Regions from separate parts of the Homo sapiens genome. Here all the other regions are linked to region 3. The links are contacts of gene promoters, found by promoter capture Hi-C in human tissues and cell types (Jung and others, 2019). All regions are on one chromosome and are shown on one strand. The core of a region is centred on a gene start or on the middle of the fragment in contact, and the rest is flanking DNA. Distances in the headings are between cores, read along the strand shown.

The links. Contacts are between HindIII fragments. The study calls those that stand out against the background at their distance.
Region 1: a contact is called between a fragment that was not itself captured here and the fragment with the promoter of ISL1 in region 3, in 1 of the 25 tissues and cell types used here (H1 embryonic stem cells).
Region 2: the fragment with the promoter of ITGA1 here is called in contact with the fragment with the promoter of ISL1 in region 3 in 1 of the 25 tissues and cell types used here (pancreas).

The regions. Positions count from the first base shown.
Region 1 is chr5:52,577,640-52,582,020 of GRCh38, reverse strand. It overlaps the pseudogene SLC60A2P1. Among named protein-coding and RNA genes, the nearest start is that of ITGA1, 210 kb to the left of the region's middle. The HindIII fragment of the contact is 3,028 bases long and covers 1-2,901 here.
Region 2 is chr5:52,786,313-52,790,305 of GRCh38, reverse strand. ITGA1 (integrin subunit alpha 1) reads right to left here and starts at 2,390. Exons shown (of 29, transcript NM_181501.2): 1 at 1,892-2,390. The coding sequence starts at 1,952. It overlaps PELO (pelota mRNA surveillance and ribosome rescue factor), which reads right to left and starts at 2,390. Exons shown (of 3, transcript NM_015946.5): 1 at 1,892-2,390. The region is part of intron 1 of PELO-AS1 (PELO antisense RNA 1); the gene reads left to right. RefSeq lists an enhancer at 2,423-2,702. The HindIII fragment of the contact is 9,565 bases long and covers 1-3,993 here.
Region 3 is chr5:51,381,805-51,385,952 of GRCh38, reverse strand. ISL1 (ISL LIM homeobox 1) reads right to left here and starts at 2,505. Exons shown (of 6, transcript NM_002202.3): 1 at 2,254-2,505; 2 at 1,223-1,412. The coding sequence starts at 2,281. ISL1-DT (ISL1 divergent transcript) reads left to right here and starts at 2,621. Exons shown (of 2, transcript NR_046243.1): 1 at 2,621-2,979. RefSeq lists enhancers at 268-451, 268-796. The HindIII fragment of the contact is 8,696 bases long and covers 1-4,148 here.

The DNA of each region.
Region 1 (4,381 bases), core at 138-2,637, 1.2 Mb before region 3:
ATTAAACTTGGCTAATAACTTATCTCTTAAAGTATAAAATTTTTGATTCAAATTCCTTGGGTGAAAATTATCATTTGAGATAATACAATGAGTTTACTCTGAAAGTAAATATACACACACCTTTCCAAACATAGAAGTGATATGCATGTGTATGTGTGTGTATATATATAGTAGTGTGTACAATAAAAAAATCCAAACAAAGATGGACATTTCAACAGGACAGAAACTCAGAAAAGGTGGCGACAGCCAGAGGTGGTAAATTCATCATTGGAAAATGAAGGACATGTAAATACCCTAGAGAAGATATTGAACATGAGCTATTTTCATTGCTTGAAGCCTTTGACTGAATCAGAGCTGTCACTCCTATGAGAAAAGACTTAAAGAATAAGCTTGAGCATTTAGAGGGCTTCAGTTAATATGGTTGCTTAGTTGCTGCCTGGACTGCCAGGAGAAGACAGAGAGAGCCTCTCAACAAGAAGCTAGAGTAAGCCAACTGCAGTATGATTTGAAAAACTCAGTATTCCCCCAGGAAGAGTAATCATGACCATATAAGTCACTTTTCTGATGGGAGCCCTTGGGAATTGTGTGGAAACCATAAAAACCCTGCTATTCTCTCTTGAGAGAAAAAATCATAATGCTGAAGAAAAGCTTTAAGACGAAACTATCACAGTAAATGAGAAAATGATATGCCAACCAACAAACTCAAGTCACTAAAATAATAGTTGCTTAGAAAAAGCAAGTCATCGGGCAAGCTAAAAAATTAATAAAAGATTTCAAGTAGTTGGAACTGGAGCTCTGCAGGGCCAGATCCCCAGCTGCAGGGCCTAGAGGCAGTGGTGATACTAGCAATGGTGGTGGTAGTCTCCTGATGGAGCAGCCAGGCCCAGATCATGCTGTGCTGGTTCACCACCGTCATCCTGTTGGCTGCCTTCCCAGGGCTGGGAATGAGTGTTGCTTTACTGGGACCCACATTTCAATATTTTGCCACAAGTTTGAACCAAAATATTAGTCATCTTCCTTTAATTTTTGTGGGCCCTACCTTTGAGTGGCTCTGTGATTGGTGGAGTTCTTTTTGACATCATGATTTTTTTTTTTTTTTTTTTTTTTTTTTACTTTTGAAAGTGTCAGTGTTGGCTACCACAGTTTGTCTTTATCTTGTTTATTTTTTCAAGACAGCTCTATTACTGATTGTCATGATGTCTATCTTTGGTACTTCAATTTGCATTCTGGATACAGGTGGTGATGTCCCTATCTTGGCTGTTTGAAGAACATAGGATCTCCACATATGTAGGCATATTACACTTCTGTTTTGCCTTGGGTGCCTTTTTGGCTCCACTGCTAGCTAAACTGGCATTGGGTACGAGAGTGTCTGTGAAAACCACGCAGTCTGACTTTCACCATCCTGCACTGACGCTGACTCAGAATCTCTGTTTGGAGGACCTGAAGTTATGTGTTTACTGTGGTCTTATGCTCTGAACAGTACTTATATTTTTGTAGGTCCTATCTTTGTTTTTGCTCTGTTTTTAAAGATAAGCTCAAGGTGAGGAAAAGCAAAAGCATCTGCTCAGACATCTCAAAGAACTAAATATCACAATGCCATTTTTTGTCTCCTTTTTCTGTTCTTCATTTCTTATGTTGGAGCTGAGGTAACATATAGCTCCTACATTTTCTCATGTGCAGCCATTCACGCTATTGTGAAATAAAGTGAGGCTACTGGGTTGAACTCCATCTTCTGGGGGACCTTTATGTCCTTCAGGGGACTGGTAATGTTTTTTGCTACATTTTACATCCTGGAACCATGATTGTGTCAAGCAAGATTGGCAGCCTGCCTTCATCTTTATATCTTGTGCTTTTTGGCAAGAGCCTGGTTTGTCTTTGTATAGTAATTCCAGTGTATGGGGCCCTGATGGAAACTACATTTTCCAGTGGTGCTTCTTAGATTGCACAGTACATGATCACACATGAGAAATTTGCAGCATTTTTTGTAATCAGTGCTGTCCTAGAAGAAGTGGCTACTTCTGTAGAAATTGGATTTTTTCCAAAGAAAATACCCTGATTTGCCTGTAGTTCTGTATACATCTGTTTGGGCGTATTGATAGCCACTGGTGTTTTATTTCCTGGGATGTATGAATTAGCCACTTCACCTCTTAATCACCAGAGAAAAGTAAACAGAAAGAGTGAGGTCCAGATACTTTTGCTCTCCAGGTCTGGGCTAAATGACTATGAGGAAGAGAAATGAAGAGGAAGATGCAGAAAAATTGAATGAAATCCATTTTGAAGTGACTGAAATGAATGATAAAATGAAACATTCTAATAGGTACATCTAGAGATATTTTGATAGAGGCCACAGCTGAAGTCTCTGACCAATCCCTCTCAAACGTTTTGGTGTTTGAGTCCTCCTTGGTTAATACTGGCAACTCCCCTGTGAGGCACTTGTCAGAAACCGGGATAACAGGAACTGTTAGTTAGAGAAGATGGATTACTCATTGACATCCTTGAATAATCACCACTTCTAATGAGGCCATTCGGAGGAGAGCATTAGCAGCTTTTCAAATGCTTTGGGGATCAAAATTTCTAGATCCAATGATAGCAAAAGCTAAAAAATTGTAAAATGTTCCATAATTCCCAGAGTCTTCCATAAATAACCAAATGGTGTCATACATGTACAATAGGATCTTGTTATTAGGCTAGTGTTTGGCATGTGGCTGATTAGGAAATATTTTATGGTCTTCATCTCTCAGAGCATGCAAATAAGGCATTTGTTTTTGAGAAGCTGGGTATTGTTTTCATAAGTCACTTATTGAGGGGTAATTCTTGTGTAAGATAAAGGAGAGAGTAAGCAATAGTAATCAGTGCAAACCTTCAGATACAGGTCTATGAAAGAGGAGGGGGCAGGAAGAAGGACTGTATAGAAAGTGTCTTAAACTGAGGTATAGCTGGTATTATGTCTCAGCAAACCTAATAGGAAATTCTAGCATAAAATTGCCTGTAGAGGAGTCCTGTTATGATCAGAAATGGTTACACAATAGATGCCCCATGTTGCCTATTCATTGGTTATGAGCTTTCCAGGAAGAACACCAAATCCTAAAGATACCTGCAGGCAGAGAGGTTCAGCTCATTGCACATCCTGCAACAAATTCCCTCTTAAAGACGGAGCAGATTATATACAGAAAATATGAACGCAAACAAGTAGAAATTAAATAAGTTTATATGCATTTGAAATTAATCAATATGTAATCCTAAATATGAAAAATATAGCATTTTAAATAATATAAACAAGTGAAAGAGACTCTCTAGATTGGATGCAGGTGAATAAAGAATATGTAACTAGAAAAGGTATTGCATAATTAACCACGTAAAAATGTATAAAAATACATTAGAAAATAAGAAAAAACTTACCAAGTTTCCACCTAGAGATGATAAAAAGTAGAGCCAATGGAACCAAAGACGTTGAAAATAATAAAGATAATAATAGAAATCAATGAATTTTAAAACAGGAAAATAACAAAGAAAATCAATAAAAATAAAAAGCTGGTTAGTCACTAAAATCACTAAAATTGATAAACTACTAGCAAGGCTGAAAGAAAAAGAGATAAAATACAGATCATCAATATTAGGAATGAGACAAAAGATATCACTACAGATTCCTTTCCATAAGGAAAAATGGGAATATTAGCAAGAACTTTATCCTCATAAATTCAACAACTTAGAAGAAATGGACCAATTTCTTGAAAATAAAAACCATCTAATACTTATTCCAATATATCTCAGTGTTAAATGCAAAAATTCTCAACACTTTATTAGAAAATTAAATTTCACAATGTATAAATATGATTATACCCAATGACCAAATGAGATTTATTCCAGCTAGGTGAGCTAATTTAATATTCATAAATCAACAAATACTTTCTATCATATCAACATGCTAAATATGATCATGTCAATTGACAGAGAAAAAGTAATCACAAAATCTAACACCTGCTCATGGTAAAACCTCTTAGAAAGTTCACAACAGAAAGAACTATGCTAACCTGATAAAAGAACATCTACAAAAATATCTAAATTTAGCATCATACACTTATTTTTCTTTTTTCCAGAGATGGGGTATCATTCTGTCATCCAATCCTAAGCACAGTGACACAATAGCTCATATCAGCCTTGAATTCCTGGGCTCAAGCAATCCTCCTGCCTCAACCTCCCAAGTAGGTGGAATTACAGGCACAAGCCACCACACTCTGCTTAACATCATACTTAATAGGCTGAATGCTTTCCCTGTAAAATCAGGAACAGGCAAGGGTACCCACTCTCAGCACTCTTACGCAACATAGGACTAGAAGTTCCAGATATTGTAATTAGGCAAGAAAAATGAAAAACGTACAGA
Region 2 (3,993 bases), core at 1,141-3,640, 1.4 Mb before region 3:
GTTGAGAATTTTGGATTTTATCTTAAAGGCAACAAAGAACCACCAAAGATTTTTGACTAAAAACAGATATAGTAAAAATGATGTATTAGGAGGGTAGACTGGAAGTTGGGTTCAAATTGAAGACAGAAAGATAAGCTCTACAGTAGTGTGCATGGATAAGTATGGTGATGAGTCCCCAGGTTACAAACGGACTCTGAATTGATGAGAAGTTTCCAAATCTGAAAGAGATTGCTAAAGAAGAGCCTACAGAATATAATGACTGATGGGAAAGCAGTCCAATTTCAGATCCCTCATGTGTTGCGAAATGGGCATAAATATAGTGCACACAAGGTTTCTAAATATTTTAAGTCTCTTCCTGGATTCACCAATGTATATTTCACCAACATATATATGAAATTGTAACTTGTTAAACTTCTCTGTTACTTCAAGTTTCACTCTTGTCTTTTTAGAGGATACGCAAACCTCATTTCATCATTTCTACTCTAGAGACTGCTTATTTGGTAGAATGAAAAAGTACAACTTGGATAGTAAACTACTGTATTCAGATTTTGCACAAAAACAACAAAATACAATCTAAAAAAATTTGAGTTGGAGAAGAATCATAGGTCAAATATGTGTAAAAAGTAGTGGCAGTAGCTGGTAAGTTAAACCACTCACCGGCTATAATGCTGTTCAGCAGTTACCACTGTTTGGATTATTGGACATTTCCTGAGTAGTGGGAAATGTTTGGATGAAAAGCCAGTAGCTAATTATTAACTCTCTTTACATTACCTCCCTTCTGAAAAAAGCTCTGCTTGCTGATAATCAACTTCTAAATCATCTTCATAAAACTTAACAATGCTTGGCCATCTAAGGCAGGTCTAAACTAGCTGGCTCTACCCTGTTTTTAGTGGTAAAAATGCTAAATTAACTAGTACTAATAACCATGCCAGCAGTAAAAACACTGAACAATTGAATATCAATGATATGTTAAAGCCAGCTGTTAATTAACCCATTAATAAGGTGATTTTCTTTCACACAGAGATTCTATCGATACACTTTCCCCCCACCTTCTTCCATTTTTCACCATTTCAACTTTCCCCCACCCCAATCAGTAACTGGTAAAAAAGATCTGACCATGAGTTCATTATTGGGAAAATCTTACAAAATGCTATATTTCAAGCTTTTTCTAAATTGGATACAACTTTGCATTTCCACTATGTTTTTAAGTCCCCTCCTTAAAAATACACATTTATGTACAAATAACAATACTATATTTTGCATCTTAAAAGTAGACTGCCCTGTGATATTTACAGAGAAAATGTTCACCATTCCTTTCTACGTTTCAAAATATCCCTCCTCTTGGGTGCTGACATAGAAACATCATTTTGGAACAAGTGGCAGTTTCGTCTTGCATCCCTGCCTTTTCTTGTTCTGCATGGGAAAAAAGCCTAAATAGTAGACAGCAAGAAAATTCAATAATGTCCACTCTGGAACAACCCGAGGGTAGGAATTTTGCATATGTATCAGGCGCCCTATAAGCATCACCCTCCCATCCCATGCCATAAAAAAGGGTGGAGGGGAGGAAATATTCAGCAAAGTCCTAATATACAATGTGTATTGTAAAAACAACTTTAATTTTAAAAGTGAATTCTACCTTCTAAGGTTTTCAGTGCTGCCTCACTCCTACTCCTAGGGTGAAGGACTTTGGAGAGACACGAAAACTAATTCATATCAAAACCAGAACGCGAAACTCCTGCCTGCCCCGTAGCCTGGCCTGAGTACCTGGAATGCCCGAAAGTGGATGGGCGCTCTCTCTTCCTATCTGGCCCATGGCTCTGAGGACCTCCCTCCCCGCTCCAAGCCCCAAGCCCGCGAGCAGGAGATGCTCAGAGAAAAGCGAGTCGCTCACCAGTGAGGAGCCAGCAGCAGGCGACAGCGACCCCTGGGCGGGCGCGGGGCCGAGGGGCCATGGCCGGAGCAGCCTCAGCGCCAGGGGGCCGCGCTGGTTCGCAGGGCAGGACCGGGCGCGGGAGCTGCGCTCTCTGGCTGGGCCACTTATCCCGCTGCCGCGGTTCCCAGTCCTCTGCCCCAGTGGCAGCGGCGCCCAGGAGCGGGAGAGGAGTGATTTCCTGTGTTTTCGTCGAATTCCTCTAAATGCGCTCCACGCTTTTCACATCCCAGACGGATTGCCACATCGCCCGCCCCTTCGCGCTCTTGGTCTCTGAAATCTCACTGGCAGCTTCCCAGGCTCTGTCCGAGACATGGACAAATAAAGCCAGCTTCGCGGGTCCGTGTTTAGGCTAAAGTCCACGGGCTGTAGAAGCAAACCTTAAAGGGACATCTGCCTTTCATTGAGAGGGTGATCTCGTTCTCCGGGCCAAATCCCCTAAGGTGGTAGGAAGGCGGGTAAGGGCTGGACCTTCGGGAGGGTGTTGCCAGCCCAGTGGCTCCGCCTTCACACCCCTTACTTCTCCCGGCCCGGGCAGGGAGGGCGCTTTGACAGTGCCTGGGCGCCCTTAACGGGAGGCAGCTTTCCCGGGTCCATTGCGCAGAGGGATTAGGCCGTCTGTGAAAATGCGAGGATCTGGAATCCCCCCTTCCATCCCCTGCGGACACTTGAAATTCACCGTGAAGTCGTTTTGCACGAAAGGGGGCGTCCCCACCACCCCGACAGGCTCCACTGAGGGCTTTGCTTTCGCTTATGGGGGGGTGGGGGGGTTGCTTCGTTTATGGTAATTCGTGGTTAAAGGGTGGTTGCAGATAAGCTTTTCTTTGAGATAACTAGGATAAGGGGAGAAAAGGAGAAGCAAGACGGAGGAAAAACAGTAAGAGGGAGAGCGAGAAGGGAAGAGAGGAAGAAAAGCAGCCTCCTTGGAAATGGAATGTGTGTGGGCTATTTTGTTTAAGTGAATTAGGATGTTTGTACGCTGGTAATTGAATCTAATAAAGAACTCGGGGCACTACTTTATTTTTTTCTTGCTTGAAACTTTCACGAGTGAAAATGCATTAAGAGTCCAGAAGTGCTTAGGAACTTGCAATGCTTCCCTTTCCTGGTGAGTTGAACAACCTCTCTGAGTCAAAAGCCATATTCACCCTAGCTTCAACCAATGCTGGCTATTTTCAAAATAGCTGTGTCTTAGCGGTTTTGAGAATTTCAAAGACAGAAAGAATAAGTGGATTTGTGTTTAGAGGAATCTGAGGGAAACAGTTCAATTCAATTCTTCAACTCAACAACTAATTGAGCATCTCTAGCAGAACTAGGGCTAGGCAGGACAAGAGTGCCACCCAAAGGAGGGTTCGTTGAGCAGAACGCAACACAGGTAGCACAGAACAGGTAACACGAGGGACAGGAAGGAAGAAGCCCACAGGGTTCACTGGATACATTGCCAGATAGAGGATCACAGCAACTAAAAGCTGGAGAAGACAAAAGTTGAAGAAGTTTAAGGAGCGTCAAAAATGGGGTGGGCAGACCCAAGGAGGTTGAAGGCCATCAGATCTCAGTATGTTGACCCATTAATCAAGAAATTCCTTTTCTATTATGTATCTGAACTGATTCACTATTTAGTAAATACATTAAAAATCTCGTTCTCCCGTTTTTAGTTTTTATAATGTCATTTCTCAGTTCTGTCTTCAAATTTACACAAATGAGTCTCTAGAAAAATTGTATTATGTTGGGTCACAGTTCAATCCCATTGGACTTTACTTAAGTTCCTTTGTTTGTGTTCAATGCTCTCATACCCTGCCAAGGAATTCATTTCCTGTGTATATCTCGTTTCCCTGTTGGTAGTATCAGTTATGTCTTATGCCTCTCAGTATGACTCTCTGTGCTTTGAACAGTAACCAATAGATATTGATTAATTCGTAGACATTTAAAAATCATAGTAAGTACTTTCCCAATGATATTTCTCCAAATTGCTTAGTTTTCAAAAACATATAATAGTGTGTCTATATATACACAATCATGTGTATGTATGTATGTGTACATATATATGTACAGCATATACATACATA
Region 3 (4,148 bases), core at 1,256-3,755:
CTGTGTCATGATTTTTAAAAAAGAAGAAAAAAATGCTGGATACTAAGTGAGCAGGAGCAAACTGTGACTGTATATTAAATCTTAACTAAACTTTAATAAAAGTTCTCAAGCTCCAGAAACCATTTGCCTAACAAAAGCTAATTAATTACTTGTTAATAGCCACCGGACATTTAAAAAGTGATATTTTGCTATTATTTAACATAATAATGATGCTGATGTCTCTTCTGTTTGTTAATAAAATGAATACAATTTTCTTTAGAGACTACTGGCTTTCTAAGGCAGAAAACAAAGTTTCTGATACATACACACAAGTCAGAGGAAACTTGAGATTAGCAAAACGTGTTGCAGAATAAATTGGAGGAAAAAAAAAACAAAAACTCTCCAAAACAACAAAACCAAACTCAGAAAGTTCCTATGTTGTTTCAGTCTTGTCAATTTGGACAATTCGCTCATTTTATCAGTTACCAGATTTTAATGTGAGAAAGGAAGCTGTTCAATTATCTAAATATACCAATTGTTCGTAGACAGATGATGGGCAATTTGATCTGCTCTAATTCATCAGCTCAGATAAGATAAGAAAGAAGAGACAGTTAGATGTCACCAAAGGGTTAATATTTAAAAAGATTAAGTTTCCGGTGTTTTTTCCAAGGAATATTTAGGTTGGTTTTAAATTTTTCTCAGAAGGAGGTCTTACCCCAAAAATAAAAGGAGCAATACCTGTACTCGCTCTTTCAAAGTACATCTCTAAACATGCTTCGGTCAAACTTTTATTTCACCTATTGCATTGATGCCACCAAAGAATTTGTAAGCTACTAATTTTAAAAAGGACTAAAACAAACAGAACACTGCACTATACAACAAAAATCAACCCTATTTTAAAGCTAAAAATCCAAACTTCTCCATCTTTTTAAAATTTTGTTTTGTAAGGGGGAGGGTGAAAGAGGAAAATAATTTGTGCATCATAAACTCCAAGAGTAATTAAACAAGCCTCAATACCCCGGAATTATGAATACCACTGTTAAGGGTTTTTGTTTTTCTCAACTAAAGAATGAAATGAACAGCATAGCTTGATTTTTTTAACACATGTACAGGGTAACTTTGGCTTGTATGACTACACTGAGGCAAACTTCACAAAAAGACAAAGCCACACCAAATAATACATAAAGAGTGGGGAGATTCAGGGAAATCCCACAAAATTAAGAAAGAAGTGTAAATGCCATACCTGATATAATCTCTTTTACAGTAGGTTTTCCCATCCCTAACAAAGCATGTACAGCTCTCGTCCAAATACTGATTACACTCCGCACATTTCAAACATGCCGCATGCCATTCCAAATCCGGAGAAACCCTCAGAATATACTGATCGTGAATCTGATTGCCGCAACCAACACATAGGGAAATCAGACGTTTTTCTGAAATGAAAATAAATACATGATTGACTAACCGTTTACTTCCTACAGAGATAAACACACTTTTAGTGTCGTTCTCTTATAGGGCGTACTCTGGGAGGTTTTTTTCTTTCTTTCTTTCTTTCTTTTTTTTTTTTTTTAGAGCATTGCACTTTGGGATGGTAATTGAAATGTGCCATCAAAACCTTGACTCATTTTTAAAAGGAGGTGGAATATATGTAAAATGCAGATTGGAATAGTCTACATTTGTACGCCTAGCACGCAATCAAACCCGCTCATTTTGTATTTCTCCCCCCCCCCTTCCTCTTTGCTATAATCATTGGGAAAGATTATGGATAAGTCAAGTCAAAGAAAAGGTTTTGACTAGAAGCGTTAAGTGAACGCAGGGATGTCTATATTTTCCGTGAAGCGCGCTCTTAAATAGCACACAGGACTGGATATTGTTAGCAAGAGCAGGCATAAATACAGTTGTCACTCGTTCTCTTTTGCAAGTCTAATGCTAATTCACATCTCTGGGCATTGACTGTGCAGGCAGACCTTTGCAACATAATAACCTTCTCGGAGAGCTCAGGATTCCCCAGGAGGAAATCACCGCTTAGCACCAGAAAGCTAGAGCTTTGGAGGGCACACAGGCGAATTCACACACAAGGTACAATCAGTTTCCCGAAGATAAGAACCGACAGTAAGCATGCAGGCGTGGCGGCAACAAGAAAAAGCCACCTTTTCTCTTTCTCCAGGCAATGACTCCAACTCCAAAGAGCCCTTGGCACCTCAGCCTGTGCCTGAGAGAGAACCCCGCACAAGAACAGCACACCGAGCCCCACAAGGTAAAATAGCCTCTTACTTTTTGGTGGATCTCCCATGTCTCCCATATCTGTAAGAGGGAGTAATGTCCACAGTGAAATGGTGGTTGTACAGTTGGTGAACAGCCCACAGAGAGGATGCTGGAGCTGTGGCTAAGTGGGAAATATTGGCCCCTGGGGTTGCCAATGCTGAAAGAGCCGCTGCTCGGCTGCGCCGCGCCCTCGCGGATCTAGGAGTCCAATTTAAGCCGGCGGAGTTGGCGGAGCGGAGGCGCTGCGGCGGCGGCAGACTCGGCGCGGCTCGGGCACCTCTCTTCCTTATCTCTTACTCAAACTTCTCTGCTCCAACTCAGCTCCATCGCCATTGGTCTGACGCAGCGCGCGGGGACGTCAGGCGAGCGCCGCGCCCATTGGCTGCAGGGCGCGCGGCGCAGCTGTTCTGATTATCATATTTCAGCCTCGCCGCCGCTGAGCGCCACTGACCGCTCGGCGAGCCAGCGGGAGAGGATTAGGGCTCCCGAGGCAACTTGCTCGGGGCTCAGGCCGTTCTCCCCCGAAGCTCGGGCTGCCGGGCTGTTCTGGCTCTGGCCTCCCTCTCCTCCTCTTCCTCTTCCTTCTGTCCCCTCCCGCGTTCCTTCCCGGCCGCGCCGCCTGCGCCCTCGCCTCCTGTGGCGCTGCTCCTCCGCCCTGCGCTCCTGGGGTCCCCGCAGTCCGGCTGGCCGCGTTGCGCGCGGGGCTCACTTTCTGCCGCCGGTGGCGAGTGGCTGGTGGGTAGGTCTACCTGTTGACGAGGTCCCTCCCGGGCTCTAGGAAAAGGGGGGAACTTGGAGCAGGCCGTTCAGCTTGGTTTGGTCCCCACGCCGTGGTGCACATCCCCGGGGCCTGGCCTGCCTTGGCTGCTCCGGAGGGCTAGTTCCTCCAGAACTGGCTGCGCTCGGCGCGCTAGGGGAAGAAGAATCGGGAATGGGATGATTAAACCCAGAGGAACTGTTTCCTGACTGCTACACCATTACTCCGTCTCCCCCAACCTCAGATATCTAAAAACGTTGGGTGGGAGGAAAGGGGCGCTTCTTGCTGTTGGGACAATCAGGTTGGAACGCACCGGTAAACCGAAGTTGACTCCGCGGACTGACTTTTTGTCTTTCAGACCCGCGAGGTCTGCTTCTCAGTTTAACTCTAGAATTGAAGCTCACTAACCCGAAGCCAAAGAGCGAAATGATCTTTCAGTAGTCTAAAGTTTGTAAGATTTTTATATACTGTTCAATTCTTCTCACTGCTGGTCTCCTGCCCTTTGTTTTTAAGCAAACTTGTGCAACTAGCTGTGGTATTTTGGTAATTATAAGGACAAGTCTCCATGACTTTGTGGAGATTTTTTAAAAATGCATTAGTCTAAGGGCGCGAGTAGGGAGGGATTTATTACAGAACAGTGAAAGACCTATTTCACGTCCCCAGGCGTTAATATATAATTTTCTCTCGAGAAACTACTTGGAGAGAGAAGACTGTTAGGTGCAACTCGCCGGTAACCTTCTTCAATCATTCTTACATGTTCCCATCATCTGTTACGGTCTCCCAAAGACAGTCACAGGAAGGCCACGAAGAACCCCCGCGCTTCCCCCAAAGCTTCTAAAAAGCCATTTCTTATCTAATGGGGCTGCCAGTTTTATCTAAAAAGTCCTACAGACACAAACCATAGAAGGCTTAATTTCGGTGTCTTGTTGCTGTGAGAAGACCCGGTGTGTTAGGAAACTCCTTTCTTTATATCTTTCGCAAAATCTAACCCTTGATAAGAGCTGTAAATCCTGGCCGGCCGCATTGGCTGGGCTTGAACGGGTAATGCCTCTCCAAAGCGGAAAGGGAATCAAAGATGCGTAAGTTTCCTCCTGACCTAGCTGAGGCTTTCTTCCCCAGGAACTAGTTTTGATTTGTTTTTTCTCAA